7 separate regions of the Homo sapiens genome follow, and regions 2, 3, 4, 5, 6 and 7 are each linked to region 1. Evidence: promoter capture Hi-C in 16 types of primary human blood cells and fetal thymus (Javierre and others, 2016). All regions are on one chromosome and are shown on one strand. Each heading gives the region's core, a stretch centred on a gene start or on the middle of the fragment in contact. The rest is flanking DNA. Distances are from core to core; before and after follow the strand shown. Region 1 holds the start of AIFM1 (apoptosis inducing factor mitochondria associated 1). Region 2 has its middle 3.3 kb from the start of ENOX2. Region 3 overlaps OCRL (OCRL inositol polyphosphate-5-phosphatase). Region 4 overlaps OCRL (OCRL inositol polyphosphate-5-phosphatase). Region 5 overlaps OCRL (OCRL inositol polyphosphate-5-phosphatase). Region 6 has its middle 57 kb from the start of APLN. Region 7 has its middle 39 kb from the start of APLN.

What was found. Contacts are between HindIII fragments. The CHiCAGO score rates a contact against its expected background, and 5 or more counts as called.
Region 2: a fragment that was not itself captured here is called in contact with the fragment with the promoter of AIFM1 in region 1 in 1 of 17 cell types (naive CD8 T cells); the score reaches 6.0 in naive CD8 T cells.
Region 3: a fragment that was not itself captured here is called in contact with the fragment with the promoter of AIFM1 in region 1 in 5 of 17 cell types (M1 macrophages, M0 macrophages, M2 macrophages and 2 more); the score reaches 9.0 in M1 macrophages.
Region 4: a contact is called between a fragment that was not itself captured here and the fragment with the promoter of AIFM1 in region 1, in 4 of 17 cell types (M1 macrophages, M0 macrophages, total B cells and 1 more). The highest score is 9.1, in M1 macrophages.
Region 5: a contact is called between a fragment that was not itself captured here and the fragment with the promoter of AIFM1 in region 1, in 6 of 17 cell types (M2 macrophages, M0 macrophages, total CD8 T cells and 3 more). The highest score is 12.0, in M2 macrophages.
Region 6: a fragment that was not itself captured here is called in contact with the fragment with the promoter of AIFM1 in region 1 in 4 of 17 cell types (total B cells, M1 macrophages, naive CD4 T cells and 1 more); the score reaches 7.1 in total B cells.
Region 7: a contact is called between a fragment that was not itself captured here and the fragment with the promoter of AIFM1 in region 1, in 11 of 17 cell types (naive CD8 T cells, total B cells, non-activated CD4 T cells and 8 more). The highest score is 10.8, in naive CD8 T cells.

What each region holds. Positions count from the first base shown.
Region 1 is chrX:130,163,876-130,168,045 of GRCh38, reverse strand. It overlaps AIFM1 (apoptosis inducing factor mitochondria associated 1), which reads left to right and starts at 2,205. Exons shown (of 16, transcript NM_004208.4): 1 at 2,205-2,495. The coding sequence starts at 2,390. It also overlaps a transcript of RAB33A not described here. RefSeq lists an enhancer at 2,217-2,556. The HindIII fragment of the contact is 8,785 bases long and covers 1-4,170 here.
Region 2 is chrX:130,904,434-130,908,603 of GRCh38, reverse strand. No RefSeq gene overlaps it. Among named protein-coding and RNA genes, the nearest start is that of ENOX2, 3.3 kb to the right of the region's middle. The HindIII fragment of the contact is 1,296 bases long and covers 1,459-2,754 here.
Region 3 is chrX:129,541,780-129,545,949 of GRCh38, reverse strand. It overlaps OCRL (OCRL inositol polyphosphate-5-phosphatase), which reads right to left. Exons shown (of 24, transcript NM_000276.4): 3 at 913-992. Among named protein-coding and RNA genes, the nearest start is that of OCRL, 3.6 kb to the right of the region's middle. The HindIII fragment of the contact is 1,359 bases long and covers 1,236-2,594 here.
Region 4 is chrX:129,558,156-129,561,413 of GRCh38, reverse strand. OCRL (OCRL inositol polyphosphate-5-phosphatase) reads right to left here. Exons shown (of 24, transcript NM_000276.4): 7 at 2,661-2,781; 8 at 2,413-2,574; 9 at 763-864; 10 at 121-235. Among named protein-coding and RNA genes, the nearest start is that of OCRL, 20 kb to the right of the region's middle. The HindIII fragment of the contact is 2,612 bases long and covers 1-2,556 here.
Region 5 is chrX:129,577,050-129,581,219 of GRCh38, reverse strand. All of the region lies in intron 18 of OCRL (OCRL inositol polyphosphate-5-phosphatase), which reads right to left. Among named protein-coding and RNA genes, the nearest start is that of OCRL, 39 kb to the right of the region's middle. The HindIII fragment of the contact is 1,167 bases long and covers 1,172-2,338 here.
Region 6 is chrX:129,595,528-129,599,697 of GRCh38, reverse strand. No RefSeq gene overlaps it. Among named protein-coding and RNA genes, the nearest start is that of APLN, 57 kb to the left of the region's middle. The HindIII fragment of the contact is 1,227 bases long and covers 1,301-2,527 here.
Region 7 is chrX:129,613,663-129,617,832 of GRCh38, reverse strand. No RefSeq gene overlaps it. Among named protein-coding and RNA genes, the nearest start is that of APLN, 39 kb to the left of the region's middle. The HindIII fragment of the contact is 7,528 bases long and covers 1-4,170 here.

The DNA.
Region 1 (4,170 bases), core at 956-3,455:
ACCACCACGCCTGGCTAATTTAAAAAAAAAATGGTAGAGATGATGTCTCATTATGTGCTCAGGCTGGTCTGGAACTCCTGGCCTCAAGCAATCTTCCCACTCGTCCTCCCAAAGTACTGGCATTACAGGCATGAGCCACTGCACCCGGCCCTGTAATTTCATTCTCTATCCCCATTCCACCAAAAAAAAAAAAAAAGTAACTTCATTACCTCCAAAGTTAGGGCCCAACTCTTGCCAGTTCAAATCTGGCCCCCCACCATACTTGCCTGTCTTTATCACTACTTCTTTATTTTTTTCTTTTTGGAGACAGAGTCTTGCTCCATCATCCAGGCTGGAGTGCAGTGGCACAATCTTGGCTCACTGCAGCCTCCACCTGGCAGGTTCAAGCGAGTCTCCTGCCTCAGTCTCCCTAGTAGCTGGGATTACAGGCGCATGCCATGGCGCCCGGCTAATTTTTGGATTTTTTGTAGAGACGGGGTTTCACCATGTTGGCCAGACTGGTCTTAAACTCCTGACCTAAAGTGATTCACCCGCCTAGGCCTCCCAAAGTGCTGGGATTACAGGCATGAGCCACGGAGCCTGACCACATCAATACTTCTTAGTATGTACTCTCTATCATTGTCCCCCGAAAATGTGCTGGGTTTTGGTTTTTTAAAACAGTTCCAAGCCTTTTCATTTAACAAACAGCATGGTGCTTCCTCTAAGACACTTTACAAATATTAGCTCATTTAGTCTTCCGAACACCCTCCTGAGATTTGTAGATGAGGAAAATGAGGCACAATTAAGTGACTTGCCCAGGTGGCAGAGCCAGGATTCAATGTGGGTTGGTCTGGATCCAAGGTCAACATGTTTAACAATGAAAAATGTTATCTTTGGTCCGAAAGTATTCACCATCTGAAATATCAATCCTTTTCCTCTACTGTTTGAATTTTACTACTCATCCTTCAAGACACAACTCAAATAACTTCTTACACGAAGTTCTACCATAGTGATTCCATCCCATAGTCTTCTCTCTTGCTCTGTCCGGCACTACACCAGATATTATTTCAATGACCGGTATATGTCATCTCCCCAACTAGACAGTGGCCACTTCCTATATAGATGCTATGTCCAAATAAACCCATTGTAAACTGAAAATATCGTTAAGTCGAAACTGCATTTAATACCCTGATAAACCCATCATAAAGTCAAAAAACCGTAAGTTGAACCATGCTTAAGTCCAGATGCTCCTCGACTGACATGGGGTTAGGTCTCATTAAACCCATCATAAAGTCGAAAAATTGTAAGTCGAACCATTGTGAGGGGTAAGTCGGGGACCATCCGTACTTTTCATACCCAACAGAGCCCCTTTTATAGTACAATCCAAGAGGTAAGTGCTCAATAAATACTTGTTAAATGAATATGTAAGCTGAATCTTTGAAACAGGCACATTGTATGTTCTGCATGCAGCCAAAACATTATTTCCAATTTAGCTTATATCTGGCAGAGTCAAAACACTTATTTACACTCAGCCCCTCACCCTACTCCCATAACTGAAAGTTCTGCTTAGCAGACTTCTCTTCCCAGAAAGTCCGAGAAGCACGAACGCTTTTTGCTAACATCCTGCTCCCAAGCACAGAAACCACAGCAGGAGACTGTGTGTATCTGTAGCACCTGGTATACAGCATCTAGGACACACAACTGAACTAATAAATAAAGGTGACAGGCGGGAAGAAGAGCGCAGAATTACTTGTCCAGGAAACGGGTTGGGTGGGAAAGAGCCGGCAACTGGTAAAAGATGGAAGTACACGCCGGATCTGGGAAGCCAGGTTCCGCGCCTCGGACTCATGGAAAAACTGGATCTGGATCACTGCAAAAGAATCAGGAAGGCTTCGGTATCAAGTAACTGGTGTCCTAAAACCAAAAAACAAAGTGCGATGCCGGGGCTACGCTGTTGTGAGATGCTGTTATCAGTTCTCGTCACCAACACAGCGGCAGCACCAGGCACAACCGCCAATCAAAGCGGCCCCACGAGTCCCTCCTTGAACAGGTTCCTTAACTCGTTCAGTCCAACACTGTGCCACAAACTCGCGAAAACCGGCTACCTAGAGCCAGCGTCTTTGCGAGCTTGCGGCCAGCTAGTGCATGCGCAAATCCTCTCGCCGTGCGGACCAATCGCAATGCGGCAGCGAGTGCTACGCCTGCGCAGTAGGCCTCCGGTCGCCGTTCCCCTTCCCCGGCTCTAGCAGGCCGGCTTCTCTGTCCAATGCCCACCCGGAGCTGGGAGGAGGAGTCTGCGTAATGTGCGTGTGAAGAGACTGGGGGAGCTGGCCGGGGCTCACGGTGTTTGACCCGTCGGTCGTGCGTGAGAGGAAAGGGAAGGAGGAGGTCCCGAATAGCGGTCGCCGAAATGTTCCGGTGTGGAGGCCTGGCGGCGGGTGCTTTGAAGCAGAAGCTGGTGCCCTTGGTGCGGACCGTGTGCGTCCGAAGCCCGAGGCAGAGGAACCGGCTCCCAGGTGACTGACCCATTCCAGGCAACCTCCAAGTCCGAGGGCCTGGCGCCTTAGGCTCCCTGTGCCTTGCAGCCCTCTACCCCCGCGTCCCCGCGAGAAACTTAACACATAGTCACGTGAATTCCAAATTGGCAGACTCCGAACCCTGAGTCTTGCAAGCGGAGGAATTGGCTCAGCCATGCCGACCTGACCTTCAAGAGATTTGAACCCAGTAGTCGGCTTGAGGCCTTTTCCCGGGAGCGTTTGCTGTTCAGGGATCCCAGAACAACTGGCTGTCGGCGCCTCCCCGGCATCCCCACCCCCCACCCCCCTTTTTAGAGCAATGAGGTCAAGTAGACTTTGTCATTTACCGATTGAGACTTTAAACAGGACGTTTAAGCCCTACGCCTAAGTTTCTTGTGTAAATGAGGGTGTTATCTGCTCAGCCTTCCAAACCACAGATGAGATCCATGGATTTGAATGCCCAGTGAAACAGAAACGGTGCAGGGCAAGTAAGGAGTCGGTTGGTTGTGTACCAGACACCCAGAGAATTGGCCCAGACTTAATTGGAGATGCCTGAGCCGTGTACTTCTTGGTGGTCTTTAAGGCTTCAAAGAAACAGTTTGCAGAACGCATTGTATTTTGTTCTCCATTAAGTTGTTTCATCAAATTTTAGAGCTGGAAGGGATTTTGTGGTAAAGGTCAACCCACTCATTTTATAGATAATAAACTGAGGCACAGAGAGGTGAAATTACTTGCCAAAGGTCACATAGTTAATTAATAGGTAGAGCTAAGGATAGTTTGCTAGCCTCCAGGTCCTTAATCCCTTCGCTGCAACTCCATACTGCTTCCTAAAGTTGACCTCAAAAAGTTAAGAATGAATTCGGGTCTCTTCCCAGTAATTAGCCCATTGTACATCAGATATCCGTGAATTTATCTGAGCATGGCTTGAGCCTGCTTCTTTTCGTACTGCGTTACTTCATGGGGGCAATGAATGATCCACCTGTAGGAGTTGCTTTGAAAAAAAAATCAGTAATCCTTCAATGTCCACCCCTAGGGCATTTGCAATGTCAGAAGTTATCCTTGAGGCTTTTACAATACAGAAACACCTGGGTGCTTTAAAAATAAAAAGTGGAAAATATTTTCCTTGGGTTGTTAGGGTCTTTGCAAATGTGCATTTGAACAGTTTTTCCAGTTGCTATGCACAATGAAAATGTTTCCTGATAGGTGTATTTGAGTTATGTCCTGGGACATACTGCTCTTGGAACTTAAAACCTCTGCTTAGCTTTTAAACTAATGCCTTATCAATGGATGTCATCTTTGAGGGTTTTGTGTATTGAAATGATGGTGCTCTGTGCTTGTTGCACAGAAATTGAGATAACCTGAATTTTTTTTTTTTTTTTTTTTGAGACGGAGTCTCGCTTTGTCGCCCAGGCTGGAGTGCAGTGGCGCGATCTCGGCTCACTGCAATCTCCGCCTCCCGGATTCACGCCATTCTTCTGCCTCAGCCTCCAGAGTAGCTGGGACTACAGGCACCCGCCACCACGCCCGGCTAATTTTTTTTTTTTTTTTTTTGTATTTTTAGTAGAGACAAGGTTTCACCATGTTAACCAGGATGGTCTCGATCTCCTGACCTCGTGATCCGCCCACCTCGGCCTCCCAAAGCGCTGGGATTACAGGCGTGAGCCACCGCGCCCGG
Region 2 (4,170 bases), core at 857-3,356, 740 kb before region 1:
TGTATTAGTGGCCACAAACTGAGTCCTAGCACTAGCTGGAGGTTGAGCAATCAGTCTGGTCACAAACTTAGTCCTCAATTGTGAATAGATGTACCCATGGCACTGGGCACATTATGGTCACTAACAATTAGCAAAGACTGAACTCTACTACTGATACCGAAATGCCTGCTACACTAAGCCAGAGTCTAAGTGCCAGACTGACAACAGGCAATGAACACTCTGAACTCAAACCCTGGCAACATCCTGATCCCAAAACCCTGATTACAGCCTGAGCCTCTAAAGCTTTCAATCTGGATTTTATGTGTTGTTTGTTCTCATCTCAACTCTATCCACTGACTGACAAATAACATCAACAGCTAATCCAAAAAACCTGTTTACACTCTTAGCCTTAAAACCTTCTTCATAGTAAGCCTTACCTTGGTTATTGGTAACTCCCAAACTCTGGTACAAGTTTAATCAGATAGCACTACCACCAATACTCAGTGAACACAAATGCTACATAAAGTCATAGTGGAATTACTCCCTCCAGACTCAACTCTGATAGTGGTCAAATTGAAATGGCTAATACAGGTCACCGACTGAGCCCTGCTCTGGCCACAGAATGAGGGCCAACACAGGCCACTGTGAGTTAGCTCCATAGAACATTGTTGATATGAGCTATGGACAAAGACAGAATCCTGACACTGGCTAAAGTCAGAAACCACACCTTGAACTTACTCTAGCCAAATATGCATCCCAAATCCTGTTCATATTCATCATTGAAATCCTGGCCACAAACTGTATCATAATTTTGTCCATATATGAAATGCTAACTCTGGTTTGAGACAAGGCTCTAGGGCACATGACAGGTAATGTCCTAACATGGCAACAGACTGAATATTAGACATTGACTGTGCCTTACCATTGGCCACGGACTGAGACTTAATTATTGGACCCAGAATAAACTCTAACCATGAATACGAATTGAAACTTAACCTGAAGAAAGACTGAACATAAATCCTGTTCATATTCTTACTTCATTTTTTCCTAGGCAACATCATCAGCATGAAGACTAATCCCAGGCAGAGCCATGGTCCTGGCCTTTATTGACTTTCAAGTCTAGAAATGAAAGTGATTCCAACATTGATCAAAAACTAAAGTCAAACATTGAGCTGAGCCCTAACCTTGGGTGTGGTCTAAGTCTGGTCCACAGACTGAGCCCTAACTCTAATTTTAGAATGAGGCCTCTTCCTACACACAGACTAAATCCTAATTCTGGCCAAAATTTGAACCCAAATCTTGCACCTTGACTTCATAAACCAGGCCACTCTAGACTTACAGCAGCCTCAGAGTGAGCTTTAACACCCTGAGGCTGCTGTTAGTCCAGAGTGGTCAGAAATGCACTTTAATCTGTGACACAGACTGAACCATGGCTCTAAATCTGGGGCCTAATATTGCTATCAGGCTTAACCCTAAGCTTGGTTTGATGGTCTTCTGATCCTGAATCCACAATGGCCTGTAAAAACAGCTACAGACTTACTAAATCTTAACCTGAGAAAAGATTGAAGCTAAATACATTCCACATTATACACATGAACCCTGGCCTTGACCTGGGCTCTACACTGGCTCTGGATACAGCTCTAACCTTGACTTCCTAATTGTTCTCTGAATCCAGCCAGACTGTTTGACCCTGGGCCAGTATTTCACAAATTCATCTTATTATATAACAACAGACCAAAGAGTATCACGTTTGTATATACACATACAAATATATGTATACATTTGTGCTTATATATAATATATATTATATATAAAATTTCTGTATGGCTTATTGGAGATATAGATATGTTTTATATATTATATATAAAATTTCCATATGGCTTATTGGAGATATATATATGTGTGTGTGTGTGTATTTATATCACCATACAGAAATAGCCATACACAGCTGTGACATACACAGTAAGAAATATTACTTATCACAGCTATGTATTTTAATTATTTATCTTGTTTGTTGATGGCTTCTTCCTAACAGAATATAGCCTCCAAAGGGAAGGGATGTTGTATGTGTTTTCCACTTCTCTATTCCCAGCATCTAGAATAATGTCTGGCACATTATAGGTACTCAATAAAAACTTGTTATATTGATGAAGGAGTAATTTCTTCTTACTATTCTGTCCTGCTACTTGACCTCTCTGTAATATATGCCAGTAATTCTACTTTGTTTTCTCTTGGTTCATCTGTTTGGGCATTCCCTCTCAGCTTCCTTGGAAGGCATCTCTTCTTCTACTTGCTACTTGAATATCATTATTTTCCAGGATTCCATAATCTTTGTCTTTTTAAAAACTATTATTCTAAATACTCTCTAAATTGGCTGGGCACAGTGGCTCACGCCTGTAATCCCAGCACTTTGGGAGGCTGAGGCGGGTGGATCACTTGACGTCAGGAGTTCGAGACCAGCCTGGGCAACACAGTGAAGCCCCATCTCTACTAAAAATAAAAAAAAAAATAGCCAGCTGTGGTGGCAGGCACCTGTAATCCCAGCTACTCGGGAGGCTGAGGCAGGAGAATCACTTGAACCCAGGAGGCAGAGGTTGCAGTGAGCCGAGATTGTGCCACTGCACTCCAGCCTAGGCAACAGGGTAAGAAACCGTCTCAAAAAAAAAAATACTCTCTAAGTAAAGTTTAAACAATTTTTCACTTATTTAATTGCCCTCTATATTATACTAATGTCTCCCAAATGTTTAGTTCCAAGCAAGACCTCTCTCCCAAGCTTCCGACCGGCATTTCTCAGCAGCCTATCAGGCATCTCCAACCAAAAGTTCCACAGACTCTTCAAATTTTAAATGTTCAAAACTGATTTCCTCCTATTCTTCACAAAACTTGCTATTCTTTCTAGGTTCAATATCTCAGTGAATGGTACTACCATACACTTAGTCTTCCAAGTCAGAACTTGGGAGTCGTAATGGACTCCTCCCCGTCTCTCACTTTCCACATCTACCAACTCCATCTGATTATTCCATTTCCTGCTAGAAATACTTTGATGAACAGGAACCCATGTTTTAACTCACCATTAAAACCCAAAACCTGTCATAGTGTATGGAACATAGTAGGTGCTCTGCAAATACTTTGAAATCAATGATCAAATCAAAGTAAAGAGTCATGGAAAAAAAGATAAAAAGAAAGGAGACAAAGCTGAGAAAAGAAATTCTGCATTTGATTCACACAATGTTTTTCTGGTGGCCATAATACTGAAAATGCCTTGTTTCACTCCTTTTTATGGCTGAAATGAGGTGATTTTTCTTTTTCTCTTTTTTCTTTCTTTTTTTAATTTTTTAATTTTTTTTGAGACAGAGTCTTGCTCTATCACCCACTACACTCGAGTGTAGTGGTACAATATCGGCTGACTGCAGCCCTAACTTTCCAAGCTCAAGGGATCCTCCTGCTTCAGCTTCCTGAGTAGCTGGGACTACAGGCATGCGCCACTATGCCTGGCTAATTTTCTTGATTTTTTGTAGAGACAAGGTCTCATTATGTTGCCCAAGCTGGTCTCGAACTCCTGGGCTCAAGCAATCCTCCCAACTTGGTGTCCCAAAGTGCTAGGGTTACAGGCATGAGCCCCGGCACCCAGCCGATTTTTCTTTTTTTAAAAAAGCAAATTATTTTCCTGGAGGAATTTAAAAGTATAAAAAGTATTAAAACATAATATAGCAATTCAATTACCACCCTCCAGAATGATTCCCCATAATACCCTAGCTATGTGTTCCCAGTATGTTCTATGTGTATATGCTTTAAAAAATAAACACTATATAAGCACAAAAATTCCTCTGATGGTTCTCTCCCACTTTCAAGTTAAATTATGAACTAATTGATATGACCCCTTGTTGCTGCCTGATCTAGTCTCTGCAATATGGAACTTTTGCTATTGTTCTCTGCACTCTTTCATGCCTTTATGCCTTTGCATATGCTTTGTATAGAATATGGTTGACCTCCCTGCCCCAAATCTGACAAATATTTTACTGGTTCTTCAACCAGTTCTCCAGAAGTAGAACAAGTTCTTCCTCCTCTATGTTCCTATAGAACCCTATGTAGACTTCTTTACAGCATTTTGCACATTGTATACTCATCTATTCCTCCCCCCAGATTCTCCTCTACTACAACTCCCCTCACCTGGATTTTGAGCTACTTGAG
Region 3 (4,170 bases), core at 666-3,165, 620 kb after region 1:
TTGAACTCAGGAGTTTGAGACCAGCCTGGGCAACATGGCGAAACCCCGTCACTACAAAAATTACAAAAAAAATTAGCTGGGGGGTGGTGCACCTGCAGTCCCAGCTACTTGGGAGGCTGAAGTGGGAGGATCACTTGAGCCTGGGAAATGACCTTGTCTTGAAAAAACAAGTTTTCCAAGAAGCTACAATTGATACAGAATGCTTCTGCTAGATAAAGCCACTGGTCCTAGTGAAAACAGAATGCATTTGTTCTCTAGTATCAATTTCCTTTCTAGAGCAATGTGAGATGACAGAAGCAACACCTCCTACACAAACCTCCCAATTTTTAAGTTTCATTGTAGCAGATGAAACAACAGATTTTCTATGCTCCGTCCCCAAATTTGAGGGCAGGAGGCCAAATATTTCCTCCCCAGAGTCAATTTTCTTATGATTCACCAATGTCAAGGTTTGAGAATCAGCACAATTGAGTGTAAGATATTACAGTCTGGCAAGGCATGTTGCCAAATGTCTTAATTTCAAATAGCATGTGGAGAAAGTGCTGAATGTGTGTGAATCCAAGTGACCTTGGTACCTTATGAGCACTGTGTCCGTTAAGCCCAAGAATGTTATTTAAATCCACATATAGGTCAGTCAGCATAAAAAACTACCTACACAGGTAACAATCTACATACATCTCTAACCCAAGCCAAGGAAACAGGTGAGACTATAGACACACATATACAAATATATTTCGATATAACCCTTCAGCATTCTTAGAGAAAGTATCATCTCCTCAATGTTATCTTTTTATGCAAAGAGTAATACATTTCATTTTACATGCACTGACAAATTTAAATATGTATGGTATTACATAATGCAGTAATGACCGAGAAAAAACATTATAAAACTAGCTAAGGAATTAAAGCTAGTACCTTGAACACATCTGAAGTGGCTATTTATAGGAATGATATCTTGAACATGCTGTTCCTTCTCATGCAACTGGATTATTAACCTAGGAAACAGAAGAACGCATCAAAGAACAGCCACTGAAAAACTCATTTAGCAAAAAAATACTTCACTGTCCTGTTATACAAATCTAGTCTGTATTTACTAGACTTGCTGCATCTAGTTCCCTGGATCTGAGCATCATGACAGCTAGATATTGCTCTAGGCCTAAAAGGATGCTAGTGGTGATGAACATCTGATTACCCACACTGTTCTCTAGGCCATATATCCTAAAAACAGTGTACAAGCTTAAGAGCATGAATTACAGAGTATATAGCTTCAGAGTATGCATACCAGAGTGAAGAACTGACAGCTAGATGTGAAGTCCATGAGTGCAGGGACCACAGCTATCTTTACACCACGGAATTTCTAGTACCTAGCACAAAGCCTGGCACACAGGAGTTGCTCGTGTGTGTGGAATCAATGAATTAGAAAATTCATAAATTAACCTTCCAATTATATTCCCATGGCTTTTTACCAAAGAATGGATCTGTCTCTTCAAACAAGCATTCAGGTTCATGGAGGAGTAAGAGGGGGTGCTCAGCCAGCTGGATTGGTCAAAATATCAGTGACCAACAAGGTGGCAGATATCACAACTGGATTGCCTTCAAATCCCTTGTTTCTTCTCTGGTTTCCAAGTTTACGCTGGTATTTCTACATAAACATGAGTAAACCTGACTCCCCAGATGAAATCCATACTTCTAAATCCATACGTACTCCTGAAATATTAATTTTTCATTTATTATTTATCCTTAGTGGTCCAGAATCAAGGTACGACCTACTGGTAAACAGCCATTCTGAACGTCAACTAGCATTCTCAAAGTCAAGCACTCTTCAAGTATTGTTTTTAGTTTTTTGTCAGGAACACTCTGTTTCTTTCCGAGTTTCATCTCAAATATCACCTCCTCCATGAAACTGTCCTCAGTACCCCCAAGCAGAACCAGCAGCCTTATCGCCTTTGTTTGCCCCTCTAATAGAACACTTACACACTCCATTATGGTTATATTTATTTCCCCTCACTGATTTCAGCTCCTTGAAAGCAAAGACCAGATCATATTCAGTTTTGTCTGCAGCCTAATAGATGCTCAACAAATACTGGCTGAATAAATTAACTAGCTTAATTAAGCTATAAGCAGCGGTGAATTTTTCAATGAAACTGTCCAACTTCTGACATTAAAATGTCATTGTTTTGAAGGGTTTGATTTCTATTTTGTTGTCTTTTGGGGGTGCTTGTTGCTTTTGCTTTTTGCATTTTCAAATGTGTTAACTTTGAAGAGGATAACCTGGGATAGGATAAGTAATTACTTAGATAGAACTAAGGGAAATAAAAGTATTAATGCTGTTTTTCTGCTGTGATCCTTCTTGCCTAATTTGCAGGGGTTTGTACTCTAAGGTGATTACAGGAATATGGGGCAGGCCCCTTTCCATCTGGAAAGTTCATGAGTTGAGTGGAGAGTCCTATAAACCCAGATGGAAACCAGAAACCAGATAAAAGGCTGAGAAATCAAGGGTTAAGGAGGAAGAGCTTACTTTGAGGAAGATAAACACAAACCACTAAAATCTCAAAATACATAAACAAGAAATGGTGTTGAACATTAGCATTAAAGCTTCATCTGGACAGTACTGTTAAAAACTATTACAAAACAAATAAACTGAGAATTTAAGTGAATTTCACCAACATTTATTGAGTATTTACTACGTGTTACCCACTAAATTACAATAAAAGAGTAGGGCTAAGAATAAGCATAAAAATTCTGAGTGTAATTATTCATTTCAGAATATAAAGATTAGAAATAATTGGTATACAGCAAAACAATGGAATTCAGAATTTGGTAGTTGTCAAACAGAAAAGAGTGACAAATCCTGAATGCCAACTCTGCCTTATCCCTAGGAAACACTTTGATTTGTTCAAGGAAGGTTAAAGGTCAAACAGGTTTTGTCATAATCTATTATCCTTGAAAAATATGAATCTTAAGTGTTTGATTCCCTGTTTCCAAAAAAACCCTGATTTTTAATTGTAATTTTGGTCAAGCAAATTTCCTATGGTTGACAGTAGGAACCACAGACCTAAAGATTTAAGTCAGGCTTCAAGTTCTAGGATAAAAAAGCCAAAAGTAAAAAGTTCTGGACACTCGAGTCAGAAAAGACACCAGAGAGACAAGAATATGAGGATTACAGATGGTATTATGGTATTAGGTGTCTCCAGCAAATGCTTTCAAGAGAAACTTCTCAGTGTAATTCTGAGACATGTTACATAGGATCAGATCTCAGGTATTCTACTCCCTAATTGCAAACAAGTGACTTAACCTGTCTGTGCTTCAATTTCTGTATCTATAAAAGGGGGATGATGATATTACTATCTTATAGTAACCCTCACATGTGGATTAAATGAACTAACTAATGAAAAGGGCTTAGAACAGTACCTGGCACATAAGCAGCCATTGAATGTTAGTTATATAGCAACAACTATATTAGTTGTTAGTTATATGTTAGTTTATATATAAACTATAGTTTATATGTATTTAAAACTATAGTTTATATATATTTAAAACTATTTACATAGTTTATATATAAACTGCTAATATAGCAACAACTATATTAGTTGTTAGTTATATAGTTGTTATATAGTGTTACCTATATATTAATGTTAGTTATATAGCAGCCCCATACCCCCACATATACCCCCAACTATACCCCCATAACTTACACAGAATTGGAACACACGACTTCCTTATTAGCTCAACAGAGTTCCAAATCTACTAATCCGAGGGACTAGATTCTGGGCTGTGGTCATCTCAACAATGTAGCTACTCTATTCAATCTTCATGATTTTGTTTTTACATTAGAGGAAACCAAGGCACACAAGTTTTACTGGTTTGCCCAAGGGTCACCTCTCTGTAACCCACTCTAGCCTTTGGAAATGTTAGTGGTGTTCCACTTTTCTGCTGAATTTTGTTTTATTAAATTCTGAATTTAGTTTAGTTTCATTAAACTAGTCTTCCAGGGTTTGATGAAATCCGGGTTTGATGAACTTCCCAGTAGAGCTGACTAAGCAGGACCTATGAAAGAGCTACTTCACAGAATTAGCTGACATCCAGTTAGAGTGGCACCAATAGTCTCAGAGAAGAGCAGGTTGGGCCAGTGGGAATTTCTTCCGTGTAAATCTGACAGCATAGATACAGAGG
Region 4 (3,258 bases), core at 1-2,500, 610 kb after region 1:
ATTACACACAGAGAAGAATTCAATTAAACTATTCTTTTGGAACAAGTTGTAGATAATGGAATAACTCCCGGTGAGCCCTATTTAGTCATACACTTAAAAAGATAATTAAATGCGGCTTACTTTCTTATACTTGGCTTTGGAATGCAAACCTCTCTCTACAGCCATGGACCATTCTTGTTCCTTCACAGATTCAAAGTAGAAGAAGGCTTCTGTGCTCAAGTCCAGTTCTTGGAATCTGAGGAAAAAAGGGATATGAGATCTATACATATCCCATAATTATCTCTGGCTACCTCCTGTCCCATATGTTGAAACATTAGATGAAAAAAAGATGGGAGAGAGATAAATTTTATAGAACTGCTCTGTTCACCCAGGTTATCAGTAAGAACAAGTAGCTTTCTTTTCTAAAGAATTCCCACAAGTACATTCATAAGCTATGCAAAAAATAAATCAAAATACCTCCCACAGAGGATAACAGCAGAGCTTTGCTCTTATATCCTAGGAACTGTCACTGTTAGAACTGACCCCAAGTCTTAGTTTCTATGCAGAATATATAGATTCCTACGGGTTTCAAGAAAATTAGATGCTTCCTTACACCATTTTAGGTATCTGTTCATTTCTGTTCTCACAAATTTGACCCGCAAGTTAACTCTCGTGTATAGTCTACAGTAGGTTTTACCAACAGTCTTTTTTAAAAAAGGCAAAACATCATGTAAATGAACACCAAACATATAGCCAAAAGGAAATTCCAGAAGTGTTCTTTACCCAATGCAGTAGATATCAGGAGGATTGGGATCACAGTTCAGCCAAGGTTCTAACCCGCTATCTGGAGACTGGCCATTCACATTCCAAGTTCCAACAAAAAATCTAATACATAATACGAAAAGATAATTTGAAAACAAAGATCAAGTATAAACCAACAGAAGTTCTTTCTTTTCGCTTCCATACAAAGGTATGTTCACAATATGCTAACATAATTCCTCAAAATGTTTTGCCACATATGTAAGAAAGATCTTTTGCATCTAGAACACAAAGGCAGTGGGCTTATTTTCTCTAAATTTTACATTAAGTAAAACTACAGAAGGAAACCAAGTCTTTATTTTTAAAAAATGCAAAGGTAATTGCTATACCACATTTCCTTTCAATTAAGCTCCATCCAAACTCATACTTGATAGGAGAGCTTATGGATGGGAAAGAGGTATCTTCATGCTGTAAGCTAGTCAAATATGGATAAATGTTCTATAAGGGGCTATAGTTGACTCCAGGAACTCACTTCCTGAAGGATTACAAGGACATCTGTGTAGGAAATTCTGATGAGGCAGACATAGTATTAAGGGGGAAAGCAGAAGGGAAAACTCATGACTGTCTTAACTGTTTACACACAAATATAAGCATAGTGGGGGATATGAGGAACTGCAAGTTTTAGCATAGGGATATAGTTATGACTGAATTAGAATAAATGAGGTATGACAGGATAGCAGATGGGACTAGAATCTTGGACTAGAAGGGTACATTCTGCTCATGAATAACAAAGAAATGTGGTGTTGCTTCATGCATTGGCGATACATGCCACATGGTACCTCACATGCAGCATACACACACAAGTCCAGAAAAAAGATGAAATAAAAAATAATACAGATAAAAGAACCCAAGATAGACCTCCCAATCAAGAGGACTGGGTGAAACTTTCTTTATTTACCAAAGTAAGTAAGTTAAGAGCTAGTGGTAATGATGGACTTTAATTTTCTAATATTGGCTGAAAAAAAAAAACTTAACAGGCCAGATATATAAACACGCTTGCTTATGGAATGTGCTAGGGGAAAATTCTCTAGTACATGTGACCTTGATTTGGTTCTCTAGGACTCAGTAGAGACATTAGTAGACATGGCATTATTAGTAGTTAGAAAATCCAAGGGAAGGCCAAGCACGGTGGCTCAAGCCTGTAATCCTAACACTTTGTGAGGCCAAGGCGGGTGGATTGCCTGAGCTCAGGAATTTGAGACCAGCCTGGGCAACCTGGTGAAACCCAGTCTCTATAAAAAACACAAATATTAGCTGGATGTGGTGGTGTGCACCTGTAGTTCCACCTACTTGCAGGGCTGGCGTGGGAGGATTGCTTACGACTGAGAGGTTGAGGCTACAGTAAGCCATGATCTATCTGCTCTCCAGCCTGGGTGACAAAGAGAGACCCTGACCCACACACACAAAAAAAGAAAATCCAAGGGAAACTGTAGCATCTGCATTATTTCTGATATGCATGTTATTGGCCAGCATAGAGACAGGAGCTTGAAACAGGCAACCATTCCTTTTTATCATATTTTGATTCTTAATTAGGCTAATGTCTTAAATATCAACAGGCCACTGTCTGTTATATATACTAACTTTTTAGACTCAGGAAGCAAAAGAGACACTAACCTGAAAGTCTGAATGTTGACATATTCTTTCTCTCGCTTTGCCAGGATATGTTTGATGAGACCCTCCCGCTGCCCAGATTGGGTATTTGGTACAAAGAGCTTCCGCATGGTGTTGGTCACTTTGGGCTGCTCCTTGTTAGAAGCTTCTTTTTCACGTGGAAGCCTAGCAAATAAATGAGAGATTCAAAAGTAAAATTGTTTAAACTATAATTCTCCTACAAGGCAAATATGTTTTCACATGGGACTTACATTTTATTCACTGAAAAGGGTGGAGGTGGGGGTTCCCGATGAATCCCAGTAGGCTGATTTTGTGAATTTATTTTCTTGTCCAAATTCATAGAAGAAAAATTGTCTTCAAATCCAAGAAGCCCTGAAAGACACAGACCCCAAAGTCAAACGGGGAAAAAATCTAACATCCAACATATCCAGGGTAACAGGGCTTTGATTTGATCACAATTTGATCAGTGGTATTACTAAACAGAAAACTATCATAAGGGTAGAAATTACTTGGATTGGAGTTCGAAGAAGCATACCTATCCCTGAAGCACTGATATACTAACTAGAACAATAGAAGTTTATAAGAACTTGGAACAGACTAGTAATAGCTAACATTTATTGAAGACTGAGCACAATGCCTGGTTGAGAGTAAGGGACTATATCATGATCTCACTTAATCATCACAAAAACTCCAAGAAGTAAGTACTATTAAAAATCTTCCCATATTACAGAAAGGAAAAGGGAAGTTCAGAGTTGTTGAGTAACTTGATGAAGGTTGTACAACTAGTAAGTTCTTGACTTGGGATTCAAATCCAGGCTGTCTGGCTCTCGAGCTTGTACTTTCTACCAC
Region 5 (4,170 bases), core at 506-3,005, 590 kb after region 1:
TAAAATAAAAGAGTCAATTAGAGGTGGAAGATGCAAATTTAAAAATAAAAAGCATAGCCGGGCACGGTGGCTCACGCCTGTAATCCCAGCACCTTGGGAAGCTGAGGCGGGTGGATCACCTGAGGTCAGGTGTTCAAGACCAGCCTGGCCAACACAGTAAAACCCCATCTCTACTAAAAAGGCAAAAATTAGCCAGGCGTGGTGGCGCGCGCCTGTAGTCCCAGTTACTCGGGAGGCTGAGGCAGGAGAGTCACTTGAACTGGGAGATGGAGGTTGCAGTGAGCCAAGATTGTGCCACTGCACTACAGCCTGGCCGACAGGGTAAGACTCCATCTCAAAAATAAATAAATAAATAGCCGAAAACTGAATGGAAAATGAAGTTCTAAAAAGGATTAGTTCATATGAAATAGAGAAGAAATACAAGCCATATACTTAACAGAGTAAGAAATGGATGGTTAGATTAGTAAGACAAAGTAAAAACATAGTGAAAAAAACACTACGGACAAATTAACAAGTTATTCCTGTTATTTCAAACTTTTGATATTGTTCTCCCAACAGATATGTCCCCAAGCAAATATAGTTTCTCTACCCATCCCTCAACTTTTTTCATCTCCGTATTTACAACTTAGCCACATCTGGCAAGTTCAAGTCTTGTCTCCTTTCAATTAGTCCATTCTACAAGTAACACCAGAATGTTCTTCCAACTATATCAATTTGCAACCTCATACTAATCAGCAAACCCTTCTGATGGTTCTAGATACCCTCTGGCTCATGCATAAACTTATCTATTGACTTCAAGACTCTCTACCACCTGCCCCATTCTCCCTAACCAGCTTCATACATTCTTATCCTTGATCTTCACTTGTCCCAGGGAAATCTTACAGTTTTTCATACATGGTCTTTTCACTTTCACCTTCTACCCTTTATTCAAGATGTCCTCTAAGCCTGGAAGAGCCTGCTCACCCACTATATTAATAAGTGTTTCTTAAGTACTTGGACTTGACTGAAAATACTTCTATAACTAACTCCAAATCACCTTCCTAGTTCACTTTATTCTTATGTGCTAAACTTATTTCTCAGTCATGTTAATGTTACATGTATCAAATATTCATTAAAATGAAAACAGGCTGATTCTGATTTCTATAGGGATTAGCTGGTCAGTCAATAAGCTTTTATAGCATATAAGGGCTTGAATAAACAACATAGGAAAGGAACCTATTGTTAATACAAACTACAACCTTCATAGCAGTCACTTTAAACGACTTTCCAAAATACTGACTTACCAAGCACACCAGACATTAGCCAGTAAAGGTGGTTAATGTTCAGATTATCTTTAACCAAACTCCCTATTAACCATGACTTAAAGTTTAGCCATATTTTATGTGCAAATATACTTTCATCACCACTAAATTATGGGAACTCACATAAACTCCATAATACTTTGTATCCAGTGTGTAATGAATCAATATTGAGGATTATTTGCTACTTAATATTCTAGTTAATATAACAGAAAAATCTATCTTAATTCTGAAAAACAATAAAGATGATTACAAATGGTAGATTTTCATCCGTTTCCCACTTGTGCTAATCTCAACTATTCTAGGAGTGGCAAAGTCACTATTATGAAAAGGGCTGGAAGGATGAAAAATAATTATGTCAGTTATTTCATTCTGCATTTGGTGGGAAGATGGTGTGGCATAAGGATCTTTCTAAAACAGTGCATAAGGATCTTTCTAAAACAGTACATAGAGAGACAACACATACATTGAACTCGTTTCTGGCTTTACCAAAATTTTAGAGCAAATAATACAACAGAGGGCAGGTACCATTATTAACAGCATCATCTCATGAGATTTGAAATACGATATTGGGTCTTGGGGAAAAAAAACATGAATACTATACCTGAGGAATCATTTCAGAAGGTCAAAATCAAGTCACAACAGAGTGAGAAGGTATTAAAGATGGGATACTAATTGTTTTTAGATTTCTTGTTTACTGCTCCACAGTAATGCAGGTTGAGTATTCCCAATCCAGAAATCCAAAATGCTCCAAAACTCGAAACTTTTTGAGTACTGTCATGATGATCAAAGGAAATGCTCATTGAAGCATTTCAGATTTCCGATTTCCAGATTAGGGAAGCTGAACTGGTAAGTATATAATGCATATATTTGAAAATCTGAAAAAGATTGAAATCTGAAACACTTTTGGTCCCAAGCATTTTGGATAATGGATAATCAACCTGTATAGATAATTTCCTCATCAATGAGATACAGGAATTTAATAACACTGAAATGCAACAGACTGTGAAAAGAACCCTAAATCCTACAAAATAAAAGCTTTAAAAGAAAAATGATGTCCACACACATACAATTTAATAAAAACTCAGAAATTCTGTAATTAAAAATGATCAGGGTTCTATTATTTTAACCCTCAATCACTTGTGCACAAAAAGAAGGAAAAAGGCTTCCCAAAGAGCCATTCATTCCTCTAATGATTTTGGTTCCTTTCTGTTCATGGGCAAACATGGTAAAATTACCTGATAGTATACTTTACATAAAATAAAAACTTTATGAGGGTTGAGCCTCTTCTGGCCAATCCCAGAATATGAAAAACTGCAAAGTTTTTCATATTAATGGCTTTGCAGTTTTTCATATTAATGGCAAAGATATTCTAATATCTTCACTGACTCTGACTAAAAATAAGGGTAGGTTCCTGTTTACATGAAGGTGGAAGGAGAGAGTATAAATGGGATAAGTTTAAAAAAAAAAAAAACAAGAAGGAAACAACCAGAAAAATTTAGGAAATGGTTGACCCTTGACTGGACATTTGTACTGGACTCTTAAAAAAGTCAATGTCACTAAAGAAAGTAGGAACTGTACTACTCCAATAGAGACTTCAGAGACCTCACCAAATACTATATGAACCCAGATTGGATTTTGGTTTAAAAAAAGGTATAACAGAAATTCTTGGGACAACTGAAGAAATCTGAATATGGACCGAATGTTAAATGATACTATGGATTACTGTTAGTTTTCTTATACATAATAATGGTATTGTGCTTAAGTGTGCCCTTTTTGTTAAGAGATGCAGGCTGAAGTGTTCAGTGGTGAAGTGACATATTACCACTAAATTTTACATGACACAGCAAAAAACATCTGTGTGTATATATGTACAGAAGGCATGTGGGGGTGTGTTGTACTGTTCTTTCCATTTTTCTGCACATTTGACATTTTTCATAATAAAAAGCTGAAACAAAGAAAGCTGGGAAATAATGTCTGAGATGAAGGAAAGGGGGTAGGAGAAATAAGAAAAACAACTTCATCATCCAAAATGTATTCTAAAAGGTGAAATACTAAAATCTAAAAGACAGAAATATAATGTTAGGAGAAAAACAATTATCATGAAAAACAGCAGAACGGTAGGATATGAATTTCTGAAGAAAATGGTTCTCTCTCAAACAGAGGTAATATACTCAGTCATGAGGGCTCTGGGGAAATAAGTATAATTCCAAGAAAGAATGCCGGGGCTGGACTCAGTGTTTTAATCTGCTATCTGAGTCACAGCTAAAACAATTCCATGGCAACAGAACAGATCGGACTCAGACAAGCCAGCAGCCTGCCTGCTGGTCTAGACCTCCCTGCTAGATACAATCACTCGCTCTGGCTAGGCCTAAAGGATCCATGTGAATACTAATGGTAAGGATAACGTATGCTGTCACCTCACCTAATTTTCTTTGGTAAAAAAACCAAGAATATACTTTTGTAGCCCAAAGAGATTCTGCATACAATCCAACAATATTTTCATTTAGAAGGAAATTTCTTAATACAATGAACTTTATTACTAAATCAACTTATGTTACTGAAGATAGTAAGTACTTCCTTCATAAAAACATTAATATTATAGCTTGGCTTGAGGGAGAGGTGGGAAAATCAACCTCCTTTTCTTTCTTAAGCACATCACATTAAGTAAGTATCAAATTTCAATGTACATTATAAGCATCTGGAATGCGGATAAAATGCAGATCTGTAGGCTCCATATCCTGAGATTCTGATTCCATTGCCAGAAGTGAGGGTACCTGTAATAAGCACCCCCAGGGATTCTGATTCAGGTACTCCAGGGTTCCAGGATAGTTCTATGCTTCCATAAATAGCAAAGTTTTACTCTGATTAG
Region 6 (4,170 bases), core at 665-3,164, 570 kb after region 1:
CCAAGGCTTGTGGGTCCAGGTAAGAATTCTGGGACCCAGAGAGGGGTGATGTGATCAGACTTGCCTTTGGAAAATCACTTAAGATAAAAAAAAAATGTTAATCATGGTAAAAAGCACAAAACAGGGGCCAGGCACGGTGGCTCATGCTTGTAATCCCAGCACTTTGGGAGGCTGAGGGCAGATCACGAGGTCAGGAGTTTGAGACCAGCCTGGCCAACACAGTGAAATCCTGTCTCTACTAAAAATACAAAAATTAGCTGGGCATGGTGGCGGGTGCCTGTAATCCCAGCTACTCGGGAGGCTGAGGCAGGAGAATCGCTTGAACCTGGGAGGCGGAGGTTGTAGTGAGCCAAGATCGCGCCACTGCACTCCAGCCTGGGTGGCAGAGCTAGACTCAAAAAAAAAAAAAAAGCACAAAACATAAAATTGATCATCTTAGCCATATTTAAGTGTAGAGTTCAATAGTGTTAGGAGTATTCACATTGCTATGCAATGAATCTCCAGAACATTTTCATCTTGCAAAGCTGAAACTGTATACCCATCAAACAACTGCCCATTTCCCCAATCCCCAGCCCCTGGTAACACCATGCTTCTTTTCTCTATGGATTTGACTATTCTAGGGACCTCATAGAAGTAGAATCATACAGTGCTTTTTGGGACTGGCTTATTTCGTTTAGCATAATGTCCTCAAGGTTGATCCATGTAGCAGCATGTGTCAGAATTCCTTCCTTTTTAAGGCTGAATCATATTCCATTGTATGTAGAGAACTAACACATTTTGTTTTTCTATCCATGGACATTTGGGGTGCTTCCATCTTTTGGCTATTGTGAATAATGCTGCTAGGAACATGGGTGTGCAAATATAGCTTTGAGACCCTGCTTTCAATTCTTTTGGATATATCTCTAGAAGTGGGATTGCTGAACCATATGGTAGTTCTAGTTCTAATTTTTTAATAAACTTTGAGAATCAATTTTAAAAAGCAAATTTAACAAGGCTGATTTTGTTGCCTACAAAACAATAGAAAATAACAGTACTGTGTGGTTGCTAAAAACTATTATCTTCTTGGATTACATTAATATAATTCAGTAAGTCCCCCCCTACCACATGAACTCCTCTAAAGTTAATAGAGCTCAGAATGAATAATTAAATGTATATACATTTCAGGAACACTTATTGGATACACTTATGCTTTAACAGACAATCTTTATTTATTAGCCAAACATCATTGAACACTTACTCTCTGCAAGGCATTGTGGGGAAACTAAAATACGCCCAGCTTGGTTCCCACTCTCCTGAAGCTTCCAGTCCCAAAGGGGCAACAACATCCTTTGGTATGTAGTGTGTTAAAATAGTGGTACAGAGGGCAGGTTCTAGGAGTTCGGGGGAGGGGGGTGGTGGGCAGGGGTTGTGGGAAAAGGCTTCCTGGAAGAGGTGACATTTGGGTTTGATGGGGTTTGGGCAGGTGGAGAGGTGGGGGCTGGAGGGTTCCAGGTGGCTGGTACAGACCACCGAGCCAAAGCAGAGAGTGCGCATGAGTTTAGGGAAGGGAACGGCATGAGAAGGTCGAGTGGGAGACTCAGCCTGAGAGGTGGGTGGAAGAGACTAAGGAGAGCTTTGCATGCCAGGCAGAAGGATTGGAACTTCTGTGGCAAGTGGGCTGGGGGGCCAGCAGGGGTCTGGAATAGGGGAGAGACATCAAAACAGTGCAGTGATGTGTACAGGGAGAGAAACTGGCAACTGAGAAATTAGTTAGAAAGGAGTTAAATACATCAGGCGATTTAACTCCTTACATGAGGCAATGAGTGTTTGAATTTTATTGGTGGGGGGGTGGGGCAGGAGTTGGAGGGGCTGGGAAATGCGCAGTGGAAAGGAGGGGCCAGCTAGAGACTGCGGTTGAGCTGATCTCGGCCCCTTTTCCGTGGAGGTCCTTCCTTCCTCCCTCCTTCTTCTTTCTTGCTTTCTTCCCTTTTTCTCATCTTCCTCCCTCTTTTCTTCCTTCCTGCCCTTCTTTCATCCATCTTTCCTTTTTTTCCTTCTTTTAAAAAAATATTGGCCAGGTGCAGTGGCTCACACCTGTAATCCCAACACTTTGGGAGGCCAAGGCAGGCTGATCACCTGAGATCAGGAGTTCAAGACCAGCCTGGCCAACATGGTGAAAGCCCGTCTCTACTAAAAATAAAAATACAAATAAATTAGCTGGGTGTGGTGGCACGCGCCTGTAGTCCCAGCTACTAGGGAGGCTGAGACAGGAGAATCGCTTGAACACAGGAGGTGCAGGTTGCAGTGAGCCAAGATCGCGCCACTGCACTCCAGCCTGGGCAACAGAGTGAGACTCCGTGTCAAATAAAACAAAACAAACAAAAATATTATGTCTGTCTTGTCTTGTAACGACCAGTCTCACCCATTTTGGTTTCCTTCAGAACCCTGCATGGTAGCCTGCACTTGGCAGGTGCTGGATAAATATTTGTTGAATTGCAATTGGTAACTGATTAGAAAGTGGGGCAGGGGCCAAAAATAACCAAAAGCTTAGGCCTGGGTGATGGGAGAGAGGAGGATGCCAGGAGAAGCTGGTCAAGGTCAAAGAGAAGTTGAATTTGACCTGCCAGCAGGCAATCTAGCTGACATGAAATCTTGGGATGTAGCTAGAAGGGATAGGGGTTTTAAGAAGCACCCTCACCTTCATGCCCACTCCAGCTGGGGAGACAATGGCTGTGTTTAAGAGCACAAATTTTGGGCTCAGAAGTCATTTTCTGGTCAGCCACTAGCCGAGTACCAAGTTATGCTGTCTCTCTGAGCCTCAGTTTTCTCACCTATAAAAGTGGGCTAATGGCCGGGCATGGTGGCTCACACCTGTAATCCCAGCACTTTGGGAGGCCAAGGCGGGTGGATCACGAGGTCAGGAGTTTCAGACCAGCCTGGCCAAGATGGTGAAACCCTGTCACTACTAAAAATACAAAACTTAGCCAGGCGTGGTGGCACGTGCCTGTAATCCCAGCTACTCGGGAGGCTGAGGCAGGAGAATAGCTTGAACACGGGAGGTGGAGGTTGCAGTGAGCCGAGATTATGCTACCGCACTCCAGCCTGGGTGACAGAGCTAGACTCCGTCTTAAAAAAAAAAAAAAAAAGTGGGATAATGTAGTACTTTATCAGGCTATCGTAAAGGCAAAAGTGATGTTAAATGTATTAGTATCTGGGATAAATGACAGCTAGAGTTATTAGTTATTACTCTTCCTAAGGTTAGGAGAAGGAGCATACAGAAGTCACATCACGTCACTTCCCTGAGTAAAGCCAGCCATGGCTCCCTGTGGTGTCGAATGAAATGCAAGCTCCTGCCTGGGGTTCCTCAGGCCCTCTGTGATCACGTTCCTGCTCATCAGTTGTCCAGCAAGTCCTGTCCCTCACAGAGTTCTGCCTGGCTGTCCCCTGAGCACAGCCAGCTGTTTTGCTGCCTTAGGGCCTTTGCATTTCTCTTTTCCTTTGCTCAGAATGTCTTTTGCCAGATCTTGCACGTGTGGCTCTTTTTGGGGGTATTCAAATCAAGATACGGTGTCTTGGCTTCCTGAGGTTTAAGTCTCAGCTAAAACATCACCTCCTCAAATAAACTTTTCCTGACCAAGGCCCCCCGCTGTACCCTCGAGTGCATCCCCGTTTGATACTCTCCACAGTACTTGTCAGGATCTGTAGTGACCTTGGGTACTGTTAATTTGCATGTCTGTCCACCCTCATCCCTGCCCTGCCCTCTTGATGAAGGCACCATGAGAGCGGCAACCTTGTCTGGTTTAATTCTAGATCCCCAGCACCTTGAACAGCACAGGGCGCACAGGAGCCACTCAACAAATACTTGTCAAGTGAATAACCCATACTGAGATGTAGGAGGAGGAGTGATGGTTGATGGGGAAAAGTCCAGAGAGGGTGGAGGAGAAGGGCTCAAAAGTGCAGGTGGAAGAGCTGGTCTTGGCGAGGAGGACCGCTTATTCTCAGACAGATGGAAAGGGGGAGGGATGAGGTTAAGCTGAAGACATTTTGATGTGCAGGGGGCAAGGCTGTTTTGACATTTTCACAAAGTAAAGGGTACAGTCACTTGCTGGGAGCTGAAGGGCAGCAGAAGCGGGTTCTGGGCCTGGAGGCCCATGGAGGGCTTGGGAATAATTGCACTAGCTGCCATTTATT
Region 7 (4,170 bases), core at 553-3,052, 550 kb after region 1:
GCTCAAGGCAGGAAATTCCACAGTGAAGGCCTCTTGAGCTATATCATTGCAACAAGAGCCATTCCCCGTGCAAGACAGGTCCCATTCCTGTTTTGTTTGTTTGGGGACTGAATGTTGTTATTCCCTGCTCTGCCTGTGTTTATGTCAGGGAACGTTTACCATCAGAAAACAAAGTCCAGGCAGTAGACCCACCAATGCAGCCAACCACGGAGCCCTTCACTCTGGCATTTCCGGGCTTGTTCCCACCTGATGGATTTCTCAGTTGAACAACATCAAAGGTCTTCTTCTAGCTTCCCCGCCCCCCGCCATCTTAAAGGGACTGTGCTGCTGAGAGGAAGCCATTTGATGCTGGAAGCAAAGCAATTTCTGGACTTGGCATCCTCACCTGTCTTCAGCCTGAGTGAGAAGCAAAACAGGCTTGTCCCGCAACCCCCAGCAAGCAGTGGCACAGATCCCAAGGCCTGGACCCTCAGGCTTTTCTGCTGGTGGATGTATATCCACAGGAGCCAACAGGGCCCAGTCCTGGGAGAGCAGCCCTAAGACAGCAGTTCTTGCTGAATGAGATCTCAGAATTGGAATGAAAAGCAGGAGAGGCAACATCACCAGCTTCCAGGATGAGCACATTTATCTTGCAGATAAAATAACTGAGACTCAGAAAAAAGGGAGGAGGGTGACAAAGAGACCCCAAAAAAGGGAAAGAGAGTAGAGGAGGGGAATGGTGCGGAAAATAAAGGCTAAAAAGAGAATAGAATGGGAGTTGGAGGAAAAAGGCTACCCCTATGGCCTCTGCAACCTTCTGGCCAATGGTTCCTCTATGCCTTTCTTCTGCCCCCAGCCCTGACCCCCACTTCGCATGCTCCACCTCTCACCTGGGCCTAATGGACATCTTCACTCCTCATGGCACATGGGTCTCTGCTTCCAGCCATCAGACAGCTGAGCACATCCCCCTGGACCCAGGTTGGAGTCTGCCACCCCATCCCAATCCTTCTTCTCCTTTGAGATTCAGCTCAAGTCTCCCTTCCTTGCTATGGCCCTCACTGCCCTTGCCCTCTTCTTAGACAGCATAGAGCTCAGACTGCATAGTTTAGCACTGGGCTGTGTATCGAATGCCACATGGGTTTCCCCACTCCCTCCTGCATGAGATAACACAATCCATCAGGCAAGGCAGAGGCCAAGTCCTGTCCTGTCCTCTCCTCTTCTTCCAGTGGGCCACGCCCTGTGGGCGAGTGAGCTATATTGCTATGATCCAATGAGCTTCCCCTTCGCCATGGGGATCCACTGACCACTAAGGCTAGTAGTGACTGAGGACATAGATTGGGGAGTGTGTGAATGAGTGTGAAAGAGAAAGGGGCCCCAAAATAATAGGAAGAGTCTCTGACAGGGAGGGGAATCCACTTCCCAAGAAAAGGTAGAGAGTGATGATGCCTTGCCAACCGCTGAGACACTGAAGAGGGTAAACAGAAGAACACTGACCCAAGGCTGGGCACCGTGGCTCATGCCTGTAATCCCAGCACTTTGGGAGGCCGAGGCCAGCAGATCACCTGAGGTCAGGAGTTCAAGACCAGCCTGGCCAACATGGCGAAACCCTGTCTCTACTAAAAATACAAAAATTAACCGGGCGTGGTGGCACATGCCTGTAATCCCAGCTACTCGGGAGGCTGAGGCAGGAGAATCGCTTGAACACGGAAGGCTGAGGCAGGAGAATAGCTTGAACCCAGGAGGCAGAGGCTTCAGTGAGCCAAGATGGCACCACTGCACTCCAGCCTGGGTAACAGGGGGAGACTCCGACTCAAAAAAAAAAAAAAAAGAATTCACTCAGAAAAACGCTGACCCAGATCTCCACTGTGTCCAGACCAGCCCACAGAGCAGCTCCTTGCCTTGGTGCTGAGCCCTCCGTCCCAATGCCCTGTGGGGCAGGCCCGGCACTCAGCACTCAGGTGACATTCTGGCAGCGTGGGGCGGGGGGCATTTGTGAGGGTAAGGGTATGGGTGTTGCACCCATCTGGTGACACTCCCTGGCCTGAACCCCACTGGGTCCCACGCCAGGGCCCAGGTGCTTGCACACTCAGCTGCAAGGTCCCTTGGATGAGGTGACTGCCTTGGGGCAGCCACATGTGGGTGAGGAATGGAGCCAAGCTGGGCCTTGTCTCACTCATCTTTGAGTTCCTCTTGCTAACTCTGCCAGCACCTAGCACTGTGCCTGGCACACAATGGGTGTGCAGTAAGCCCTGGCTAATTAATAGTAATAGCAGCTGTCATTTATGAGACACCTACTGTGTGCCAGGCATGGTGCTGAATGCCTTTCAAAGATGATCTCATTTAATCTTGACAACCTTACAAGGAAGGTACTGCATTTGAGTCCCATTTTACAGATGAGAATAACACTCAGAGAGGTTACAGGTAGCTTGTCTAAGGTCGTATGGCAAGCAGATGGTTGGGCTAATATTCAAGGTCAAGTCAATGTGATGCTAGTAGTCAGGCTGGTAACCCCATGCTGTAATGTTGAATAAACGAAAGAACAGGAATCCATGACTGTGACTTCAATAGCCTTATGCTCAGAGCAAAAGACATATGAATCCATGAAATGTGAGGGTCTGAGATACAGCCCCCCTTCCATTGTGTGTGTGCACATACCCCTCCCCCCGCACACACACCTTGGGCTTTGAAAGCCATCTTTTTGGTGCAAACATTGCAACCTCCAGCAGGGAAGTGACGCTGCAATGCAGAGCACAGGCTGTTGCGGATTGGAAGGGGAAGGAAGGCCTGTGCCAGGGCTGCCTTCACACTAAACATAGAAACCCAGAAGGACAGACAACAGCTGAGGTCCTCAGCAGTGCCTGCACCAGGAAACTGATAAGGTTCTGGGGAGAGGGTTTGCCCCTTTGAGAGTTTTGGGAGCCTCTAGTGGCTCTTTGACTGTCCCCTGTCCCCAGGAGGGGCATGGGGGTGGGGTCATTTCAGCACAGCAGCTTTCCAAGCCCAGGAGGGATGAGTGGGTGCCCTTGGGCCCAACTGCTTGTGCCAAGCCTCACCCAATAGCCGACAAACACAAGCAGGCTCAAAAAGAAGAGGAACATCTAGGGCAAGCCAGGCCAATGCCTCAGGTCTCACATATACTAGGGCCTCAAGCTGGACTACTGGAAATGCCCTCACTCCCTTCAGAGCTTTGCTCATGAGTTACTTCCTCAGTGAGTCCTGCCCTGGTCACCCTATTTAAAGTTGCACCCAACCCCCACTCTCCCTATTCCCCTTCTATGCTTTATGTTTCTCTAATAGCATTTATCATCAAATGACAATTTTTACTTATTCATTTTCTTTATTTTCTGTCTCGCTCTATTATATCATATGTACCATGAAAGCAGGGGGCTTTAGGCTGTTTTGATCACTGCTGTAATCCCAGTACCAAGAATTGTAGCTTCCACATAGTTGGAGCTCAAGAAGAATTTGCTGGAATGAATTCACTGATTTCGATGATTTGTGAGCAGTCTACAAAACATGATGATATTTACATTCTACTGCATTTTCAGCCATTCCTTGAGGGAAGCACACGGTGTTTGGGAACATTTCTACATAGAATTCATTAAACTGGGTAGCGCGAGATCCTAACATAGAACAAAGAAAATTCTTGTCAACATGACTTCCCTGCCAAGATGACTTTTTGAAATCTTCACTCTCTTTTTTTTTCTTGTTTTTCCTCTCAACTTTTATTTTAGGTTCGGGAGTACATGTGCAGGTTTGTTACATGGGTAAATCACATGCCACTCAGGTTTGGTGTACAAATGATCCTGTCACCCAGGTAGTGAGCATAGTGTCTGACAGGTAATCTTCACTTCTGACTGAGATTCAAAACTATTAAATCATATACAAAATCAATGAGAAAAATCAGCAGCATCTAATAGGGTATTGTTTGTTTACCACAACTATCAGCAGACAGGATCTAAAATGCTGTAGGAATTGATGTAGCACTTCCTAAGCAACCCAGATCAACAACAACCACAACAAAAACAGGGGAATTCCCAGGTAGTGACTAATAATAGCTCATTTCACCCTCACTGGCTGTGTGGCCTTGAGCAACCTGTTTGACCTCTCTGAGCCTCAATGTCCTCATCTGTAAAACTAGGAATAATAATGGTACCTACCTCATAGGGCCACTGTGAGAATTAAATGAGT